Regions from separate parts of the Homo sapiens genome. Here all the other regions are linked to region 1. Evidence: promoter capture Hi-C in 16 types of primary human blood cells and fetal thymus (Javierre and others, 2016). All regions are on one chromosome and are shown on one strand. Each heading gives the region's core, a stretch centred on a gene start or on the middle of the fragment in contact. The rest is flanking DNA. Distances are from core to core; before and after follow the strand shown. Region 1 holds the start of PPP1R13L (protein phosphatase 1 regulatory subunit 13 like). Region 2 holds the start of APOC1 (apolipoprotein C1). Region 3 has its middle 2.1 kb from the start of CLPTM1. Region 4 holds the start of RELB (RELB proto-oncogene, NF-kB subunit). Region 5 holds the start of DMPK (DM1 protein kinase). Region 6 holds the start of CLASRP (CLK4 associating serine/arginine rich protein). Region 7 holds the start of PPP1R37 (protein phosphatase 1 regulatory subunit 37).

Region 1 (2,815 bases), core at 138-2,637:
TTGGTACACCCAGAGCCCTGTTTTGGCAACCACGGTTATTATTTTTAATTTCATTTCAGGTTATCATCAAATGCCCTTCAAGCCCAGACATTGGGAAACACTCCTCTCTCATCAGATGCTCGCCTCCCCCATTCTGTTTTTAATCCCCCTTCTTAGGACGCATGGGGGTGGAGAGAACGGGGAGATAGACAGAGGGAGGTGCCTGGTCCTGCCCTCCCCCCGCCTCAAGGACAGACAGACACCTCCAGAATTAGCCTCTGTCCCTCCCTTATCTCCCACAATACCCCAGGTCAGACAGATGGGCGTGGAGGTGACATTTCTCACCTCAGGGTCAGGGCAAGGAGCCCTGAGGCAGAAGGTTAGTCAGAAAATCTGGCGGGGGCGGATGGAATCCCGTCCCCCAGAGAGCTGCAGAAGAAGGAGGAGGCAGAATCCTGACCCTACAAACTCTACTGCCTGTGTGAGCTCCAAGCCTCAGTTTACCCCTTCCTCTCCGTGTAATGGTTAAATGCCCGGCTATGCAAACCTCCCAGAATCCAATAGCCGCTTTCCGGAATTCTGCCCTGGGTTCTAGAACTACCTCTGCAAACCCAGCTGTTTCCCACCCCATAAGGCAATAGGGGAGCCCACCTCCGCCAGGGGGTGCCCTAGGGCGGATGTCCCTTCTCTGGTTAGGCAGGTCTGACGCCCAGGTTAATGACATGTTGGGTTCGCTCAGCGGCACAGAGGAGGTTGGAGATCTGCCTCGGTGTTTTCTCTCCTACCCCGCCCCCATCCCCGAGCCGAAAAGTCGGGGGAGAGCCGGGACACAGCCTCCGGAGGGACCCCGGGTACCTGTCCTGCTCCACTTCAGGAACCCAGGCTCCACTATCCCTGCCCCACCCTTAATTCTGCTCAGAGACCTAGAAGATCGGTCGAGACAGCAGCTTGAGGCTGGCAGGGTGGTCACCCATTCCACCTTGAGCCCCACCAGTCTGAGCCTCTCATTTCTGACCAAGACTCGGGGATTCGAACCCCTATACTACCCAAAGACTCGGCTTCCTAGAGCCCCCCAGTTCGAGGGACTCAGGAATTCCAGCTCCAACGTCTCCCCGGGATGAAGGGGTAGAATCCCTCCATTCCAAGAATTCAGGCATCCGAACCCGCTTTCCTTCCCTCCAGTAAAACAGGCAACGGAGTTTCCTTCTAAGGATCCAGGTGTCGGCGCGCCCCAAATTCCGCCCTGGGACCTGGCGTCCGAGTCCCCTCCCAATCCTCCCAGGGACGCGGGTGTTGGGCTTTTTCAGGGCCTCTGGTCCCCAGGAGGGTGAAACTCACGGATCCGGGCAGATCCTGGCACCTGGGGGCTTCCTCCAGCTCGGGCTCCGGCTTGGGGAGCGGAGAACGGGGCGGGGCAGGAGCTGGGAACAGGTTAGACGACGTGACTTGGGCTGGAGGGAGGCGGGTCCCGGTGGGGAGGGGGAGCCAAGGTCGCCTCGAGCACCTTGGGACTTGTAGTCCCGGAGGGACAGGACGTAGCCCAAGACGATCCCATTTGGATTCACCCAGAGTCCATTTCACAGACAGGAAGGGCGAGGCCCAGAAGCCGAGAGCGACCAGGCCAGGGAGATACAGAAGAGCCGAGACGCCTGCCTCGCTGTGGCTGGAGACTGACTCCTGAGCCCTTGCCCCACCCCTTCAGGCGCACTATCCCCTTTCCTGATCAGTATCCCCCAGGGTCTCTGAGCCCGAATCTCCCCGTCGATAAAAAGCGCGGGTTGGATCTTCAAAGGATGTCCCAGCAAGAGTTCAAAATCTTAGTTTGGACTACAACCCCCAGCAGCCTCCGCGACCGCCCTCGGGCGACTCTTTGCCTCGGGTCCTGTGGGAATTGTAGTCCTGGAGCCCGCAGGGGCTGCACCCCGGTGTCTCTCTCGCCCACGCGAAGGAAACCGTCTGGAGATCCTGGATAGGGGAAACATTTCCCCTTCCCCTTGACCCTCCCTCCGCTCTGGAAAGCCTCTCCCACCTGGGGAGAAGGGGTGCCCCAATTCTGGAGTAGGATCCTAAATCTTGGCAGAGGGGGCGGGAAGTGGCGCTGACACACTGGCCAGGAATGCAGTCGGGTCACCCTGTCTAGCCACCGTCTCGCGGCTCCAACCGCCGCCCAACGCGGGGCGGCCCCAGTGGGAAGGGAAGTGGGTGCGTCCCCCAAATCTGTGTCCACGTGCCGCTGTTTACACGCTCCCTGGGGCAGGGAGGAGTCGCCGATCAGGTCCCTTCCTGAAAGTCATCGAGGTTTCCCACGCATGAGACTAAACCCCCGAGGGCATCTACAAGTCCCATTTGATCCACAAACGCTACACCGTGCCCAGCACCACTCCACGCGTGTGGGGCTCCTGGGTCCGAGGCTCCGCCCTCGAGAACCACAAGCTCCTCCCCCTATGTTTCCCGCTCCCCCGGAGTCCAGAAGCCCCGCCCCTGGCTGGAACTTCACGCCCTCCGGACGGATTGCCCCTATTTCTCCATTTTCCCGCTTCTCCCAGTCAAGTTCTGAACTTGTGAGGCATCTGGGCCTCCCCAGAAGACATTTAACACAGAAAGCACAGCCCTACTAACTAGTATTCTTACCTGTCTCTTCAAGAATTTCAGACCAATCGACCGTCCTGTCTCTTTAAGGCTTAGGAAGAGCAGTGTGGCTGCCCCTTTAAGGAGGCGTTGCAACAAACCATATTGGACAGACGATGGGGGCGACCCATCGGGACCCGACGGGCCTCTGACTCCAGCAATACAGCGAATCAGCGGCTTTCGGGAATACATTTTTCGGAAAAAGACT
Region 2 (2,815 bases), core at 172-2,671, 490 kb before region 1:
CTTGGTGCCAGGAGGGGCGTCAGAGGGTGAATAAAAGCAGATAGAGTGTTTGGGGGAGGTAGCCAGCCAAAGGGGGTGAGGCCCGGTGGAAGGGAAGAAGGGACATACACGCAGAGCTTTGCAGCTGAGGGTTTTAATTTTTTGAGATGGGGTCTCTGTCCCACCAGGCTGGAGTGCAGTGGCACAATCACAGCTCACTGCAGCCTCGAACTCCTGGGCTCAAGCAATCTTCCTACCTCAGCCTCTTGAGTAGCTGGGACTACAGGCATGCGCCACCACGCTCGGCTAATTTTTGAACTTTTTTGTAGAGATGAGGTCTCCCTATATTGCCCAGGCTGGTCTCGAACTCCCAGGCTCAAGTGATCCTCCCTCTTCAGCTTCCCAAAGTGCTGGGATTACAGGCATGAGCCACCATGCCTGGCTAATGCAGGTGAGGTTTTTGCAGTGTCATCCAGCTAAGGCGACCCGTTCCCCTCCCAAAAAAGGGAGACTGAGAACCATGAAGTTAAGAGCCCAGAGAATATCACGGTGGTCTGGGGTGCTTCAAGGGCTGGTCTGGAATAAATTGGAGGTGGCACGCAGGGTAGGAGCGCCGGGCCAACTGGGAGACCCAGCAACATAAAGGAAAAGTTGTTGGGGCTGAGGAGGCTTGCTGAGAGAGGGGAAGTGAGGGAAAGAGGTGATCTAGGGACACGGTGTGAATGAGGGGGGGATGAGATCACAGGGTTATTACTGGGAGACCCCTGAGGGAAGATGGCCACAGGGACAGGACAAGGCTGTCTTCTTAAGGGAGGAGACCACCCCTCATATTGTCTTATGCCCAATTTCTGCCTCCAAAGAAAGAAAAAGTAAAAACTAAAAGGCAGAAATGAAATCCACAAGCAGACAGCCCGCGCCACACCCTGGGCCTGGTGGTTAAAGATTGACCCCTGACCTAATCCGTTAGGTTATCTATAGATTACAGACATTGTATAGAAAAGCACTGTGAAAATCCCTATTCTGTTTTGTTCCGATCTAATTACCGGTGCATGCAGCCCCCAGTCACGCATCCCCTGCTTGTTCAATCGATCACGACCCTCTCACGTGCACCCACTTAGAGTTGTGAGCCCTTAAAAGGAACAGGGATTGCTCACTCGGGGAGCTCGGCTCTTGAGACAGGAATCTTGCCCATTCCCCGAACGAATAAACCCCTTCCTTAACTCAGCGTCTGAGGAATTTTGTCTGCGGCTCCTCCTGCTACATTCTGAGTGGGGAAAGGGACTAAGGTGGTCTGAGGACCCCACAGAGTCAGGAAGATTGAGAGGTGAGAGTGCTGAACGGGGAGGGGCTTTGGGGCTAAGGGAAGTGCCCGGGACCCCACCTGACCCCAACGCTCACGGGACAGGGGCAGAGGAGAAAAACGTGGGTGGACAGAGGGAGGCAGGCGGTCAGGGGAAGGCTCAGGAGGAGGGAGATCAACATCAACCTGCCCCGCCCCCTCCCCAGCCTGATAAAGGTCCTGCGGGCAGGACAGGACCTCCCAACCAAGCCCTCCAGCAAGGATTCAGGTTGGTGCTGAGTGCCTGGGAGGGACACCCGCCTACACTCTGCAAGAAACTCAAAAAGGGAGATGAGGGGATCGTGGGAGGGAGGTAGGGAGGGAGGAGGGTGCCACTGATCCCCTGAACCCCTGCCTCTGCCTCCAGAGTGCCCCTCCGGCCTCGCCATGAGGCTCTTCCTGTCGCTCCCGGTCCTGGTGGTGGTTCTGTCGATCGTCTTGGAAGGTAAAAGTGGGATGGGAGAATTGCGGAGTTGGAGATTTGGAAGAGTGAAGGTGGCTACAGGCCTGGGGTCCCGGCTTAGAGGACCTCTGAGAGCTCCGGGGCCCCTTCTGGGTCGTGGTTGCCTCATCGTGGTCGGGTGGGTCTCCAGGTTCTCCCAGGCTCAGTCCCGCAGGCGCCAAATCTGCGCAGGAGAGCACTAGCAACCGATGACGTATTGAGGCCCACACCTCTGGGATTGGCTGTCCTGCTTCGACAGCCTTGAAAGTGGGTAAGCTGGGTGGGGGGCTCTGGGAGAGGTCAGTGCTGAGTAAGGCAATTCCCAGCAGCTTGAGCCCCACCAGGTCACTCCAGTATTCCTCCCCATTCTTTTTTTTTTTTTTTTTTTTTCTCTTGAGACGGAGTCTCGCTCTGTCGCCGAGGCTGGAGTGCAGTGGCGCGATCTCGGCTCACTGCAAGCTCCGCCTCCCTGGTTCACGCCATTCTCCTGCCTCAGCAGGACTACAGGCGCCCGCCACCGCGCCCGGCTAATTTTTTGTATTTTCAGTAGAGACAGGGTTTCACCGTGGTCTCGATCTCCTGACTTTGTGATCCGCCTGCCTCGACCTCCCAAAGTGCTGGGATTACAGGCGTGAGCCACCGCGTCCGGCCATTCCTCCCCATTCTAACCACATGATCCCCAAGGATCTCTATCCATCCCGGTATCCCAACCTAAGGGGGTTCCAATAACAAATTTTTGGCCGGGCAGGGTGGCTCATGCCTGTAATCCCAGCACTTTGGGAGGCCGAGGCGGGCAGATCACTTGAGGTCAGGAGTTCGAAACCAGCCTGGCCAACATGGTGAAACTTCGTCTCTACTAAAAATACAAAAAAATTAGCCAGGTGTGGAGGCACGCGCCTGTAGGCCCAGCTACTCGGGAGGCTGAGGCAGGAGAATCACTTGAACCCGGGAGGCGGAGGTTGCAGTGAGCCGAGATCATACCACTGCACTCCAGCCTGGCTGACACAGCAAGACTCCGTCTCAAAACAAAACAAAACAAAAATAGCTGGGTGTGG
Region 3 (2,815 bases), core at 316-2,815, 450 kb before region 1:
AACCTCGAACGAACTCCTGGGCTCCGGCATCCCTCCCACCTCAGCCTCAGAGTAGCTGGACCACAGGTGGATGCCACCACACCACCTAATTTTGTTAATTTTTAGTAGAGCTAGGATCTCGCTATGTCACCAAGGCTGGTCTTAAACTCCTAGGCTCAAGCGATCCTTCTGCCTCAGCCTCCCAGAGTGCTAGGATTACAGGCATGAGCCACGAAGCCTGGACGGAATGGCAGAATTTATTTGGTCACTCCACAGAGCATAGGAAGGCTCTGCAGGGAACCTGCCTCCACAGGAGCCCTGTCCAAGGTCACACTTCTCATGAGAAGCTTAGACCTCATCATGCTCCAACACATTGGCCCTTGCAGTGTATGAGACTTGGAGAGCAGATTGCAGCAGTTTGTATTTATAGCTGAGAGCGCAGTTGGGGTTGCAGTGAGGCTGGAGAAAGTTTCAAAGCCCCTCACTTGCCTGGGCTTTCCATGGTCCTCTACCTAAATTTGTACAAGTCATTTTGTACTTTTTTTTTTTCAAGACAGAGTCTCCCTTTTCTTGCCCAGGCTGGAGTGCGATGGCATGATCTCGGCTCACCACAACCTCCGCTTCCCAGGTTCAAGCGATTCTCCTGCCTTGGCCTCCCAAGTAGCTGGGATTACAGGCATGTACCACCATGCCCAGCTAATTTTGTACTTTTAGTAGAGATGGGGTTTCTCCATTTTGGTCAGGCTGGTCTCGAACTCCCGACCTCAGGTGATCCACCAGCCTCTGCCTCCCAAAGTGCTGGGATTACAGTGTGAGCCACCACACCCAGCCAATTTTGTACTTTTTAAAAGAGGCCAGGCCAGGCGCGGTGGCTCATGCCTGTACTCCCAGCACTTTGGGAGACAGAGGCAGGCGGATCACGAGGTCAGGAGATCAAGACCATCCTGGCTAACACGGTGAAACCCCGTCTCTACTAAAAATACAAAAAATTAGCTGGGCGTGGTGGTGGGCGCCTGTAGTCCCAGCTACTCCGGAGGCTGAGACAGGAGAATGGTGTGAACCCAGGAGGCGGAGCTTGCATTGAGCTGAGATCATGCCACTGCACTCCAGCCTGGGTGACAGAGCAAGACTCCATCTCAAAAAAAAAAAAAAAAAGAGGCCCACAAAACACATAAGCTTCAGACCCCACAAAGTCTCTCCTCAATCCCTGTCTTAGTCTATTCACTTCATCCCTGGACTTAAAAGACTGGGCCTACACATTCAAAGAATCGTTATTAACACCATTATTGTCTGTAACAGTGAGGATGAGGCACTGAGTTTTCTTTTTCTTTTCTTTCTTCTTTTTTGGAGGTGGAGTCTTGCTCTGTTGCCCAGGCCGGAATTCAGTGGCATGATCTTGGCTCACTGCAACCTCTGCCTCCCGGGTTCAAGCAATTCTCCTGCCTCAGCCTCCCGAGTAGCTGGAGTTACAGACGTCCGCCACCATGCCCGGCTAATTTTTGTATTTTTAGTAGAGACGGGGTTTCACAATGTTGGCCAGGCTGGTCTTGAACTCCCGACCTCAGGTGATCCGCCTGCCTCGGCCTCCCAAAGTGCTGGGATTACAGGCGTGAGCCACCGCGCCTGGCTGAGGAGCGAAGTTTTCTAAGGTTCCTTCTTGTCCTGTGTTAGCCCTCAGAGAGGTAAGTCACTCACCTTCTGCACCTAGAGAGCCTCATCCCCAGGGCAATCATCCCCAGGGCAGTGCTGGAGATACAGCAGTGACCACAACAGTCCCAGGTCAGCCTGCCCAGTTGGGGAGACACACCCATCCCTGACAGTGATGACACAAAGTGAGCAGGGATGGGGTGGAGGAGCTGAGGGGGCAAGGGAGGATAGGAAAAGGGCTCAGAGAGAGTTTCCTAGAGCGAGAGCTACTGTTACAGGGCTGAGACCTAGAGGAAAGTGGAGGAAACCGATAATAAAATGATAATTATATATTCAGAATATCCCAATGCAAAGCTTACTCTTTTTCCAGGTAATATATAAGGTTCATAATCACAGCGCTCCAAATATTGACCACTTAAGCATGAGGCCCAGGGCCTGATGTTTTCCATTCGCCATCTAACTACGTCTTCCCAATAACACAGCGGGGCAAAACGGGAAGACGAAGAACGAGTACGATTATATCCCTGGTTTATAAAAGGGGAGAAACTGAGGCTCAAACATAGATGTCACTTGTCACCAGCCTGGCCAACACGGTGAAACTCCGTCTCTACTTACAAAAAAAAAAAAAAAATGGGAGGCTGACGCAGGAGAATTGCTTGAATCCGGGAGGCAGAGGTTGCAGTGAGCCGAGATCGCGCCACTGCACTCCAGCCTGGGTGACAGAGCGAGACTCCGTCTCAAAAAAAAAAAAAAAATTAGCCAGGAGTGGTGGCGTGCTCCTGTAATCCCAGCTACTCGGGAGGCCGAGGATGCAGTGAGCCGAGGTTGCAGTGAGCCGAGATCGCGCCATTGCACTCCAGCCTGGGGGAGAGTGAGGCTCCGTCTAAAAAAGAAAAAAAAAGAGAGAGAGAGACGTCACTTGTCCAGGATATCTTATCCAGTCAGTAGCACCACAAGGGTTAGAACCCTGGCCAGACATCCACCCAATTTCACGGGTGAACAGTTAACAGCCTCTGAGAGTCTTGTCCTCTCTGGGCCTCCGTAACACCCTCTCCAAACTAAGGGTCTCTCAGCAGATGGCCGGGTTTAGAGCTGTACGAAGACACACAGCTAATGAAAAATTGTGGAATTCTCAGAGCCCGTGAAGCCTAGCCCACGGATGCGAGGTTTGGACCACTGAGGGAACGCG
Region 4 (2,815 bases), core at 224-2,723, 400 kb before region 1:
ATTGTTGTGAACATTCAACTTACAGAGTTATTTCTTTTTCTTTTTGAGACAAGGTCTCACTCTGTCACCCAGGCTGGAGTGCAATAGCGTCATCACAGCTCACTGCAGCCTCAACCTCCCAGGCTCAAGCAATCCTCCTGCCTCGGCCTCCCAAAGTATTGGGGTTACAGGTGTGAGCCACCGTGCCTAGCCAGAACACCCAAATTTTATACAAGCAAAGGAAAGACAACAAACCCTGCATCTGTGGTCTGAGAGCGCCTGGCATCCAACTTAGAACCTAATAGATCACCTAGTCGTTCTCAGGAATATGAGAGGCTTAGGAATGTGATCTAGCCAAATGGCTGCCCCTCTTTCAGCCTGAGTCCCTTCTGCAATAATCCTATCATATGCTTCTGGCGCTGGTGATAGGGATGAGCTCAGGGTTTAGGCACACAGCTCAGGATGTATACGGAGGCTACACTGCTGCCATTCGCAGACTGAATAACTGAGCTTTTGAGCTCAAAGTGGTCTGGGCTATTTATGGGTAACTTTCAGGGGCTGCAGGGAGGAACAAACCAATAAATAAAACATCCATGCATTCATCCAATAAACTTTTTTTTTTTTGAGATGGGAGTCTCGCTCTGTTGCCCAGGCTGGAGTGCAGTGGCACGATCTCAGCTCACTGCAACCTCCGCCTCCCAGGTTCAAGCTATTCTCCTGCCTCAGCCTCCGGAGTAGCTGGCATTACAGGCGCACACCAACACGCCCAGCTAATTTTTGTATTTTTAGTAGAGATGGGATTTCACCATGTCGGTCAGGCTGGTCTCGAAATCCTGACCTCGTGATGTGCCTGCCTCGGCCTCCCAAAGTGCTGAGATTACAGGCATGAACCACCGCGCCCGGCCTCCAATAAACATTTATTGGGCACCTACGGTGTTCCAGGCGCTGGTCTAGGCGTTGGGGTTACAACAACGCACAAAACATAAATTCTGAAGCTGACACGCTAGCTTTAAACGTTCCTTAAATATCTTCATCCTCAATTTACGGTTGAGGAAACTGAGGTGTAGCGAGACCTTGGAGGTTTCCGAAATATTATTATGGATGGCAGGTGTAGAGCCCTGCCAACCTCTCGATCCTGAAGCTCCCCTTCCAGCCTGAGAAACGGCAGGTTCAAGTCCCACTGGGAGACCAAAGCGGGGAGCGGCTCAGTTTGCCGGCTTGCTCAATGGGTAAGGCGTGATGGCTCTAAGCAGGCCTCAGTTGTCTCGTCCAGAGCAATGGGCAGCGACGCCTGCCCAACCCCTCCTGAGCGCCCAGCCTCCCTTTCCCGGCCGGCCCCGCCCCCGCGATCACGTGACGCGTGGGGGTTTTCCCGTTCCCCAGGCGTGACGTCACGGCGGGGTGCAGACCAATGGGCGCGCAGGCCGGCGGCGCCGGGGAATTCCGCCGCCCCGCCCCCGCCCGCCGCCCGCCCGGCCCGGCCCCGCGCCCCGCGCAGCCCCGGGCGCCGCGCGTCCTGCCCGGCCTGCGGCCCCAGCCCTTGCGCCGCTCGTCCGACCCGCGATCGTCCACCAGACCGTGCCTCCCGGCCGCCCGGCCGGCCCGCGTGCATGCTTCGGTCTGGGCCAGCCTCTGGGCCGTCCGTCCCCACTGGCCGGGCCATGCCGAGTCGCCGCGTCGCCAGACCGCCGGCTGCGCCGGAGCTGGGGGCCTTAGGTAAGCGGGGCTGGGGTTCAGGAGAGGGGTCTGGGGCGGGGCTGGAGATGCGGGGATTCTGGCGGTCCCGGAGTAGTCTGGGGGTTCCTATGGGAGTCTAAGGGTTTCGCGGGGGCAGAGTGAGGGTTCCTGAGACACTGTATTAGGGCGTAGGAAGAAGGCAGAGGGTGATGAGGGGGTACGGCCCGAGGTTCGAGCGAGGCGTCCCGCTGTAGAGTGAGAGGGGGCGGGGCCTGACCCTGAGGCAAAGAAGGGGGCGTGGCCTGACTCAGAGAAGGCGGAGCGAAAGCTGCTCTTGGGCGGTATCGGGGCGGGGCCGGGCCCAGAGAGGGAGAAGAGGGGCGGGATCCGACCCGGACTATGAGAAGAGGGCCGGGCCTGACTCAAAAAAGGAAGCAGGGCCCTACGCTGAGGGGTGAGGGGGCGGGGCCTGGCCGTGAGGGCAGGAAGGGGGCGGGGCCTGAGTTGGCCGAAAGAAGGGGAAGGGGCGGGGCCTGACTCTGGCCGAGTGGAGGGGAAGGGCCTGTTACCCAAAAAAGCAGGGCGGGGCCCGACACAGAGAATGAGGAGGGGGTGGGGCTTGCCTCCAGACGGAGAAGCGGAGCCTTGACATTGAAAAAATTAAAAGTGGTCTGACCCTGACAGGAGGATGTTTTTTTTTGTTTGTTTTTTGTTTTTTTCTTTTGAGATGGAGTCTCGCTCTGTCGCCCAGGCTGGAGTGCAGTGGCACGATCTAGGCTCACTGCAACCTCTGCCTCCCGGGCTCAAGCAGTTCTCCTGCCTCAGCCCCCCGAGTAGCTGGAATTACAGGTGCCCGCCACCACACCCGGCTAATTTTTGTAGTTTTACTAGAGACGGGGTTTCACCATGCTGGTCAGACTGGCCTCGAACTTCTGACCTCAGGTGATCCGCACGCCTCGGCCTCTCAAAGTGCTGGGATTACAGGTGTGAGCCCTTGTGCCCAGCGGGATGGGGACTTTTTAAACTGAGATTGAGATGGGGTCCCCTCCAGGCCCAACTTTAAGGGAGAAAAGGAGCGGGCCCTGAGTGTGATGAAGGGTGGGGCGAACCACAGAAACTAAAGGCCAGGACCTGTCCATGATTTAGCTGGTAAGCCTGG
Region 5 (2,815 bases), core at 103-2,602, 380 kb after region 1:
GATGGACACAAGAGGAAGCAGGGGAAGGCGGAGAAACAGGAAACAAGTGTCACACACAGTTTGTTACACACAGGCCAAAAACCAAACACCAGTCACTGAGGGCCAGACATATGAGGGCCAGAGGGGCAGGGTGCTGGGAATGAAAGAAACCAGTGACCAGTGAGCCCGAGTCCTGGGCTTGGGGAGGAGGTGGGCAGACAAGGCAGCTGGCAGAAGCGGAAGCATCCTCCTTCCAGCCCTGGCCCCAGGCCCTGGAAAGCCCTTGCAAGAAGGGGTTTTGTGGGACAGCTGGAAGGTTGGAGGCCCTGGGCCAGGAGAACTAAAGGACGCAGGGACCCGGGGTGGCGGGAATGGTGGCTGACCCACACGGCTCATAGGAACCGAGACTTTGGGGCTGGGGGTGGGGGTGGGTGCAGAACCTACAAAAGAAGGAGACACACCCAGAAGAACCCAAAGTTGTCCCTCCTGGATCGCAGAGGAGGGGGCACTGGTGGCGCCTGTCTGCAAAGCTGGTTCTCCCACAGGGCCCGCGTGAGTCACCGCCCTCCCAGTGCCTGGGCACCTGTTGGGGCAGCTGGAGAGGCTGGCGCCGAACACCTGCCTGTCGGCTGCGCCCCTGGCAGCTGCCCCATGCTGGCCCTCCTGGCTTGCCCCAGGCCACAGGAAACCAGGGGAGAGGGCCATAGAGCCCACTTTTGGGGGGAGGGTCCTAGGAGAGGGAGCTCCCAGCATGACCCTGACCCTGACCCTGAGGCGGGGTGCAGAGAGGCCATGGGAGGCTGTTGGCAGCCTAGCCTGCTGTGACTCCTAAGCCATGGCTCTGAGTCACAGCCACCCTAGCCTCTGCTGACCTTACTCTGCCCCTCCAGAGTGGTGGCATAGGACAGAGAAATGTTGCCCCAGGGCCCAGGTCCACACTCTGAGCCCCAGGATGGGAGGATCTCCCCATGCCCATCCTGCCATCCTGCCCCCCCAACAGCCAGGCCTCTGTGCCCAGACCTGTCTCCTGCCCCACCCCCACCCCATCTGCAGGAGCCCCGAGGGTAGGCACTCACCCCACTGCAAGAAGTCGGCCACGTACTTGTCCTGGGCCAGTTCGGAGGCGCCCAGCTCCTGGTGGACGCCCAGGAGAAGGTCGAGCAGGGGCTCCAGCCCCAGGAAGCCCGGGTCCAACACCAGCTGCTGGAGCCGCCTCAGCCGCACCTCGGCTGACATGTTGGACAGGCAGCACCATGGCCCCTCCCCGGGCCGGGGGCTCGGGGTCCTCCTGTCACAGGGCCTGGCAGCCCCTGTCCAGGCCCTGGAGCCCTGGCTGCATGTCTGCCTGTCCCTGGCTGTCCCCTGGGCCTCTCTGGCCACTTCTCTCTGCGGCCGGCCGAGGCCTCCTCCCCTTCTCCCCACCCCTTGGTCCAGCCCCCCTCCCGCCTCCCAGCCTTAACCCCTCACAAGCCAGCCCCCCAAGCTCCCTCCTTCCAGGGCCCTTCAGAACCCTTCAGTGCTAGAGTAGGGGGAATGCATGGAGAATCTCAGCTGTCACACTGTCACCCCAATAAAAAGGTAGAGCACAGAGGAAGCCACAGGTGTGATGAATTTCAAGAAGAACCTGCCCATTGCTGAAACAGGGCCAATTGAGGCTGAGTGACCCAGTAGCAACCACCCCCTTGCTCCCGACAAGCTCCAGAACTGGGGGCTAGGGGGTGAGGGCTGGGGGTTGGGGCTGGGTGGGAGAAAGGGGTTGAGGCCTGGGAAGGGGACGGGAGGCCAGGGCAGCTTCTTGGGTGACTCAGAGATGGATTCCGACTCGGACAGTTAAATTTAGCCCTCAGGCTCTCTGCTTTATACCAGCTTTTTTTTTTTTTTTTTTTTTTTTTCCCAGGAGGTGGGGAAGGGGTGGTGAGGACAGGACCAGGAGGGGGCACCCTCAGAGCCTGAACAGGGGTGACCTGCTGCCCAAAGGCTGGGGGAGGAAAGTGGTGGAGCCAAGCCCTCCCTGGGCAAACGAGACCCCAAAATAGCTCCTTGGCCCCTGGCCGGGGAGCCACATTCCTGCCCAGGCTGGGATTAGAAACAGAAACATTTCGGGGGGTGGAGGGTGGCGCGGGAAGACACACTCCCTGCGGCTCCGAGAGCCAAGAGGAATCTGAGCTCTTCTTTCCAGGGTGGACGGTTCTCCAGAGTGGAAGTCGGGGCCTCCAACCGGCCTGGGGTGCCTGGGCCTTGAGAGGGCCAGGCCTGAGAAACTAGGAGGCAAGGACCGAGGAGTCCCAGCTGGGCAGGGCCTGGGAAACGTGGTCCTGGGCAGTTCTGATAATTTAAAAAACACCGAGGACTTTGATGAGGGGCCCTGGCTGCGGGCAGGATGCTCTTCTCCCCAAGAGGGTCCTGCTCCAGCCGCTGGTGTGGGTCACCAGTTGTGTGACTCGCAGGTCCGTTCCCTCCCTGGGCTCCGGCTTTTCCTGCTATGAAAAGGGGTGGGAGGCGCTGGGCTGGGAGCAGGCCTGCACTCCTCCTCTGGGGAAAGCGGACTGCCTAGAACCACAGAGTACACACACAGGTCCTCTACATCATCTCCTCCGAAGGGGACAGACCCGCTGAGAAAACAGGGAACTTTAGTATAAATAAGAGGTCCTGCGGGACAGGGAGGAACCTGAGGGGCTTCCATAATTTAACACTCTTCAAAAGCACAGACAATAGCAAGGGCAGCTGGGGTGGGGGCCGGGCGAGGGCTGGACCACCCCCGGCCCTGCCCACTCAACTGAGGGGCACACTGCAGACCTGGGGCTCTTGTGGCAGGGGCGGGGAGTCTCTCCCCAGG
Region 6 (2,815 bases), core at 1-2,500, 360 kb before region 1:
AATAAATAAATAAAATAAAAAAGATAAAAAGATAAAGCATCCAAGCTCTTCCCTTCTCCGCTCTCCCACTTCTTCCTCGGGATCCCGCCCCTCTCGACTCTAGGACCCGCCTCTCTCGTCGGCGGAAGTGCGCTGCGCGGCCCTCCACCATGCTCCGCCCCCTCCCCCTAGCGCGGCCTTTCATTTCCGCTTCCGGTGCGGGCCGCGCGCGAGCGCAGCGGTGGGAGGCGGCGACCAGCCGGTGAGTGCAGGCTGCGGCTCGACCTCCCGGTTTTCGGGCAGGCCTCAGCCCAGCTTCTCCCTTTCCTCAGGCTCTCCCCATGCTGCTGTGGGCTTCTGCTGCGTCCCGGCCCCGAGGATCGCTCGTCCCTCACCCCATTAGGCCTGACGGGCCTCAGGCCGAGCCCGTGCCCCGGCTGTGGGCCAGAAGTTGCCGCGTCGAACTCGGCCTTCGGCCCAGCAGCTTATCACAGGCCCCGCCCCCTTGTCAAAAAAAAAAACAACAAAAAAAAAACCCAGCCCAAATCCTCAGGCCGCGACGCGATCCACAAGCCCCGTCCAAACCTTCGGTCTCCGCCCTTTCCCGCAAGCCCTGCCCCCAAGCTCAGCCCACGCCCTCCTGTCAGCCAGCTCCGCCTCTCTCAGGCTCTACGCTCTTTTTCTTTGGATGCTCTCCCCACCCCGCCATCTAGATCCCATCTTTAGACCTCAGCTTCACTCTGGTCTCCTTGCAACACTCCCTCCCCGTGTTCCCACTCCCTCTAGCATCTTCATCTTCCGCCACGCCCTTCACCTGTCCTCGACCTCCACCTTCATACAACTGCACTGTTCCCTTAAAAGCTTTCTCCGATTTCCTCCACCTGCCTTCATCCTTATTCTCCTTATCCCTCTACCACCCAGACTCATACCCAACCCCACGCATGGCCCCTAGTGGGAGCCTTTTCAGTTCTTCTCTTTCTCTTGAGCTCCAGCCTTAAGTGCTCAGGGTTTGCCTTCTGACCCTACTTCAAACACTGCTGATGTTTCAAAACCTTTCATTCCCGACTCCAGCGCGTGGAATCTAGGACACCCCTTTCCCAGTGATGCTCACCTCAGAATCACCTGAGGGTTTTTCAGAATGCCCAAGCTTCTAGATCGAAGTTGTTAGGGATGGACTTGAACATCTGGCATACTGTTCTGCAGCTTCACTTCTGCTCCCTGAAGCTAAGAGATGTGTTGTTTGGGATCGACTCTGCCACCAACTTGTTAGATGACTTTGATTCTGCCCATACGGGTTTCACAGACCATCTGACTTTCCTGGTCCCTTCATCCCTCAGGTTGAGGCCCCAGGCTTGGCCTCACCACAATGTGGCACGAGGCTCGGAAGCATGAGCGGAAGCTTCGAGGCATGATGGTCGACTACAAGAAGAGGGCGGAGCGGAGACGGGAGTATTATGAAAAGATCGTGAGTAACTGGCCTTTTGTCTGGGGTGAGGGACCCTGGGTTGGGGGGCACAGCTGGTCATCCTGGTAAAATCTGGGCTTGGAAGTATGTCAAGACAAGAGGCTCATTTCCTCAGGAGTATATTCATTAATCTTTTCTTGAGGATAATCATTGGTGGGATCCCAAGGGCTTCTGTTTGTTGTAGCATACTGTGTCGTTTGGTGTGGCCTCCCAGTGCCGATCCGGTGTTAGCAAGAAAAAGGGAAGTCTCTGTAACCCTCAGAGCAGTCCTGACGTTAGACTGGCCACCTCCAGAATGTCTGTTTCGCTTATTGCTGTGTTCCCCATTCCCAGAAGAGCTCAGCCACTCTTGAGATTTGGCTTGGCACACAATAGGAGTGAGTATTAAGTTGGCCTGGCACAGTGGCTCACGCCTGTAATCCCAAGTGGATCACCTGAGGTCACGAGTTCGAGACCAGCCTGGCCAAAAGGGTGAAACCCCATCTCTACTAAAGATACAAAAATTAGCCAGGCTTAGTGGTGTGTGCATGTAGTCCCAGCTACTTGGGAGGCTGACGCACGAGAATTGCTTGAGCCCGGGAGGAGGAGGCTGTAGTGCATGGAGATTGTGCCACTGAACTCCAGCCTGGGTGACAGAGCAAGACTCAACGCCTGTAATCCCAGCACTTTGGGAGGCCGAGGTGGACAGATCACAAGGTCAAGAGATCGAGACCGTCCTGGCTAACACGGTGAAACCCCATCTCTATTAAAATACAAAAAATTAGCCAGGTGAGGTGGCGGGTGCCTGTAGTCCCAGCTACTCGGGAGGCTGAGGCAGGAGAATGGTGTGAACCGGGGAGGGGGGCAGAGCGGAGCCTGCAGTGAGCTGAGATAGCACCATTGCACTCCAGCCTGGGCGACAGCGAGACTCTGTCTCAAAAAAAAAAAAAAAAAGACTGTCTCAAAAAAAAAGGAGTGAATATTAAGTGAAACCTGACCACTTCCCTCTCCTGTCTGATGCTTCAGTTGTTTTTGCGGGGAAGACCAAACTATCCCTGGCCTAAAAGACCCTTGTGGTCTGACCACTCAGCTTCATACTCGGACAGCTCCACTGGCCTTCTATTTCTGCCACCACAGGGCTTTGGCCTATATTACCCCCCCTCACCTATTTAACTCCTGTGTATCCTTGGGATCCCAGCTTGAAATGGCACCTGTTTTCTAGGTTCAGTGTTCCTGTCAGATGACATTTATATAGACCTTTCCCAGTTATTCCTGTATTACTGCCCCAGCCTCCTCCCTGGTCTGCTGGCCTCCAGTCCTGGCTCCTCCAGTCTGTCCTTCCTAGAAGAGTCCAAGAGGCCTTTCTAAAGCACAAAACTGACCCTGTCCCTT
Region 7 (2,815 bases), core at 97-2,596, 310 kb before region 1:
TTAGGTTGGCAGATTCGTCTCTCGCCTTTGGAATTTCTACCTTCTCCTAGGTTTTGTTTTTTAAAATCAGGCCTATGATACCGCTCATGGGCTCATATTTATTTTAGCATTGTAATTTAAGTTGTATTTTATGCAACTCTACCCCGATACAGAGAGCTGTTGATGTAACTGCAGCGAGCAAATGGAGGACTAGAGACTAGCGAAGGGGCCGAGACTTCGTCTCCAGAGTATCCCTGTCAGCATCCATCAACTGCACTCATATATTGAATGCAGCTCCTATCCGCCTTTCTTTTCGACTTCTTCATGCCGTTACCACTCTTCATCAGTTAGTCTAGCCTCAATGTTTTCATTTATTTCCTTTGTTTTTTTTGGGGGGGGGGGAACGGAGTCTTGCTCTGTCGCCCAGGCTGGAGTGCAGTGGCACGATCTCGGCTCACTAAAAGCTCCGCCTCCCGGGTTCACACCATTCTCGTGCCTCAGGCTCCCGAGTAGCTGGGACTACAGGCGCCCGCCACCACGCCCGGCTAATTTTTTGTATTTTTAGTAGAGACGGGGTTTCACCGTGTTAGCCAGGATGGTCTCGATCTCCTAACCTCGTGATCCGCCCGTGTCGGCCTTCCAAAGTGCTGGGATTACAGGCGTGAGCCACCGCGCCCGGCCCATTTCTTTCCTTTCGTTGAGACAGGGTCTGGCTCTGTCTACCAGGTCGGAGTGCAGGGGCGCGATCATAGCTCAGTGCAGCCTCAACCTACCGGGCTCAAGCGATCTTCCCACCTCCCAAGTAGCTGGAACTACAGGCTCCTGTAACCAGACCCTGCTAATTTTTAAATTTTTTGTAAAGACGGGGCCTTGCTATGTTGCCCAGGCTGGTCTCGAACTCCTGGACTCAAGCGATCTTCCCGCCTCAGCCTTCCAAAGTGCTGGGATTATAGGCGTGTGCCGCCGCGCCCCGCCAGGTGTTTTCAGTTCTATGCACTCCATTCCCTGGGCTCTTGACGAATGTGCGGGAGCTGAATATTCGTTATTTGGACTCCGGCAGGAAGGCGTGGGCTCAGCTTCGCGCTTGCGCGCTGCTCTTGGAGACGGCGTCTACTTCGCCCCGCCCCTCATAGTCTGCAGTTCCGGCTCTGCAGATTCGCTGCTCACGTTTCTTTTTTCCGTGGCCCTTCCTGCCCTTTGTTTCTCTCTTCATGTCACCCGCGGGACAACTCTACGTGCAAGTCGCTGAAATCGATTTTCTGCTTCTTATAGTAAGCGGCGGGCTCGCCAGCCTCGAGCGAAAGTGTGACTGCGAACGGGCAGGCGCGCGCGGGGCTCGGCGGAGGCGCGCTTGGGCTCCCGGCGGCGACGACTACGACCACTAGGAGAGCGGACGGAGGCGGCGCCTGAAGCGGCGGCGGAGCCCATGCCCCGGGACGGCGGGCGGACCCGGAGAGACAAATCCGGGGCCCGGGGCATGTCCCCGGGGCCCCCGTGAGGAGGCGGCGGCGGCTATGGAGATCGCGCCGCAGGAGGCGCCGCCCGTGCCGGGCGCGGACGGCGACATTGAAGAGGCCCCAGCTGAGGCCGGGTCTCCCAGCCCCGCGTCGCCCCCCGCCGATGGGCGCCTCAAGGCTGCAGCCAAGCGCGTCACATTCCCGTCCGACGAGGATATCGTGTCTGGAGCAGTGGAGCCCAAAGACCCCTGGAGACATGGTAGCTACCGCGGGTGAAGCGGGGGCGGGCTCGAGAGGGACCCGGGAGTCGGGAGGGATCGGTGCAGGGCCCGGCTCGAGGTGGCGTTCAATAGATTGCACCTAATGGTGAATAAGGGGACAGTCGTCAGTTTAGAACCGTAGTCTGTTAGAAAGGGGGTGGCTATGGAGTTGGGAAGGTGAAAAGTATCTGGTTTCTGCCGCACCCCACCCACCCGAGACAAAGATGGTGATCGTTTTAGGGTTTAAAACGATGAGCAATTAAAGAAAGTTTGGTGTTTTGTCAGATGTAGAGTGTGGCAGCCTTTGCGTTCGTAGTTCCACCAGAGAAGGAGAGAAGGAGCAGTTGAGAGGAGGAGCGGGTCAACACTGGGCCTGAAAGGGCAGTTGAAAGAGTTTGATGGGTCTATGGGGGTAAAAAGAGGTTAAGTTGCTGGTCTGCAAGCCTTGGGGCAAGGAGTGGTCGTGTTGGCCACTTTCTTGGCTGGAAAGAGGGAGACTATAAACTTGGACTGTGGCTATAGAGGACTTGGTAAAAAGGAGTCAAGATAAGGTCCCAGAAGAGGAGCAGAGGTGGTGGTCAATTTGTGGTTGGGTGAGGGAGAAAGAGGCAGTGTGGTTTTTATGTTTTCTTTTTTATTGAGACAAGGTCTCACTACATTGCCCAGGCTGGTCTCGGACTTCTGGGTTCAAGCTGTCCTCCCTCCTTGGCCTCCCAGAGTGTTGGGATTACAGGTGTGAGCCACCGCCGCCTGCTGCAATGTGGTATTAAGAAGAAAAGCCAACGCCTACCGCCGCCTCCTCCTCCAAAAAAAAGAGAAGCAGAAGGAAGGCTGTCAGTCATTCAGGAGCAGAGGATGTTTGGGACATGGCTACGGAAGGGTCCTCTTGTTCCTTCCTGAGAAAGAATTGGGGGATGGCCGGGTGCATTGGCTCAGGCGTGTAATCCCAGCACTTTGGGAGGCCAAGGTGGGTGGATCACCTGAGGTCAGGAGTTTAAAACCAGCCTGGCCAACATGGGGAAACCCCGTCTCTACTAAAAATACAGAAATTGGCCGGGCATAGTGGTGCACACCTGTAATCCCATCTACTCAAGAGGCTGAGGCAGGGAGAATCGTTTG

Evidence for each region. Contacts are between HindIII fragments. The CHiCAGO score rates a contact against its expected background, and 5 or more counts as called.
Region 2: a contact is called between the fragment with the promoter of APOC1 here and the fragment with the promoter of PPP1R13L in region 1, in 3 of 17 cell types (total B cells, M2 macrophages and total CD8 T cells). The highest score is 5.4, in total B cells.
Region 3: a fragment that was not itself captured here is called in contact with the fragment with the promoter of PPP1R13L in region 1 in 1 of 17 cell types (activated CD4 T cells); the score reaches 5.4 in activated CD4 T cells.
Region 4: the fragment with the promoter of RELB here is called in contact with the fragment with the promoter of PPP1R13L in region 1 in 1 of 17 cell types (M2 macrophages); the score reaches 5.7 in M2 macrophages.
Region 5: a contact is called between the fragment with the promoter of DMPK here and the fragment with the promoter of PPP1R13L in region 1, in 2 of 17 cell types (total B cells and naive B cells). The highest score is 7.3, in total B cells.
Region 6: a fragment that was not itself captured here is called in contact with the fragment with the promoter of PPP1R13L in region 1 in 1 of 17 cell types (naive CD4 T cells); the score reaches 5.2 in naive CD4 T cells.
Region 7: a contact is called between the fragment with the promoter of PPP1R37 here and the fragment with the promoter of PPP1R13L in region 1, in 4 of 17 cell types (erythroblasts, M1 macrophages, M2 macrophages and 1 more). The highest score is 6.6, in erythroblasts.

What each region holds. Positions count from the first base shown.
Region 1 is chr19:45,403,682-45,406,496 of GRCh38, forward strand. It overlaps PPP1R13L (protein phosphatase 1 regulatory subunit 13 like), which reads right to left and starts at 1,388. Exons shown (of 13, transcript NM_006663.4): 1 at 1,318-1,388. RefSeq lists enhancers at 1,274-2,069, 2,040-2,239. The HindIII fragment of the contact is 7,528 bases long and covers 1-2,815 here.
Region 2 is chr19:44,913,187-44,916,001 of GRCh38, forward strand. It overlaps APOC1 (apolipoprotein C1), which reads left to right and starts at 1,422. Exons shown (of 4, transcript NM_001645.5): 1 at 1,422-1,547; 2 at 1,686-1,763. The coding sequence starts at 1,706. RefSeq lists enhancers at 1-217, 976-1,735, 1,736-2,493 and a promoter at 435-1,561. The HindIII fragment of the contact is 4,871 bases long and covers 1-2,815 here.
Region 3 is chr19:44,951,910-44,954,724 of GRCh38, forward strand. It overlaps a transcript of CLPTM1 not described here. Among named protein-coding and RNA genes, the nearest start is that of CLPTM1, 2.1 kb to the right of the region's middle. The HindIII fragment of the contact is 825 bases long and covers 1,154-1,978 here.
Region 4 is chr19:44,999,991-45,002,805 of GRCh38, forward strand. It overlaps RELB (RELB proto-oncogene, NF-kB subunit), which reads left to right and starts at 1,474. Exons shown (of 12, transcript NM_006509.4): 1 at 1,474-1,695. The coding sequence starts at 1,590. RefSeq lists silencers at 1,298-1,707, 2,028-2,307. The HindIII fragment of the contact is 31,053 bases long and covers 1-2,815 here.
Region 5 is chr19:45,781,138-45,783,952 of GRCh38, forward strand. DMPK (DM1 protein kinase) reads right to left here and starts at 1,353. Exons shown (of 15, transcript NM_004409.5): 1 at 1,056-1,353. The coding sequence starts at 1,215. DMWD (DM1 locus, WD repeat containing) reads right to left here. Exons shown (of 5, transcript NM_004943.2): 5 at 1,810-2,815. The HindIII fragment of the contact is 10,590 bases long and covers 1-2,815 here.
Region 6 is chr19:45,038,868-45,041,682 of GRCh38, forward strand. It overlaps CLASRP (CLK4 associating serine/arginine rich protein), which reads left to right and starts at 178. Exons shown (of 21, transcript NM_007056.3): 1 at 178-241; 2 at 1,317-1,444. The coding sequence starts at 1,346. RefSeq lists an enhancer at 1-721. The HindIII fragment of the contact is 252 bases long and covers 1,125-1,376 here.
Region 7 is chr19:45,091,833-45,094,647 of GRCh38, forward strand. PPP1R37 (protein phosphatase 1 regulatory subunit 37) reads left to right here and starts at 1,347. Exons shown (of 13, transcript NM_019121.2): 1 at 1,347-1,695. The coding sequence starts at 1,494. RefSeq lists an enhancer at 950-999 and a silencer at 1,420-1,629. The HindIII fragment of the contact is 14,988 bases long and covers 1-2,815 here.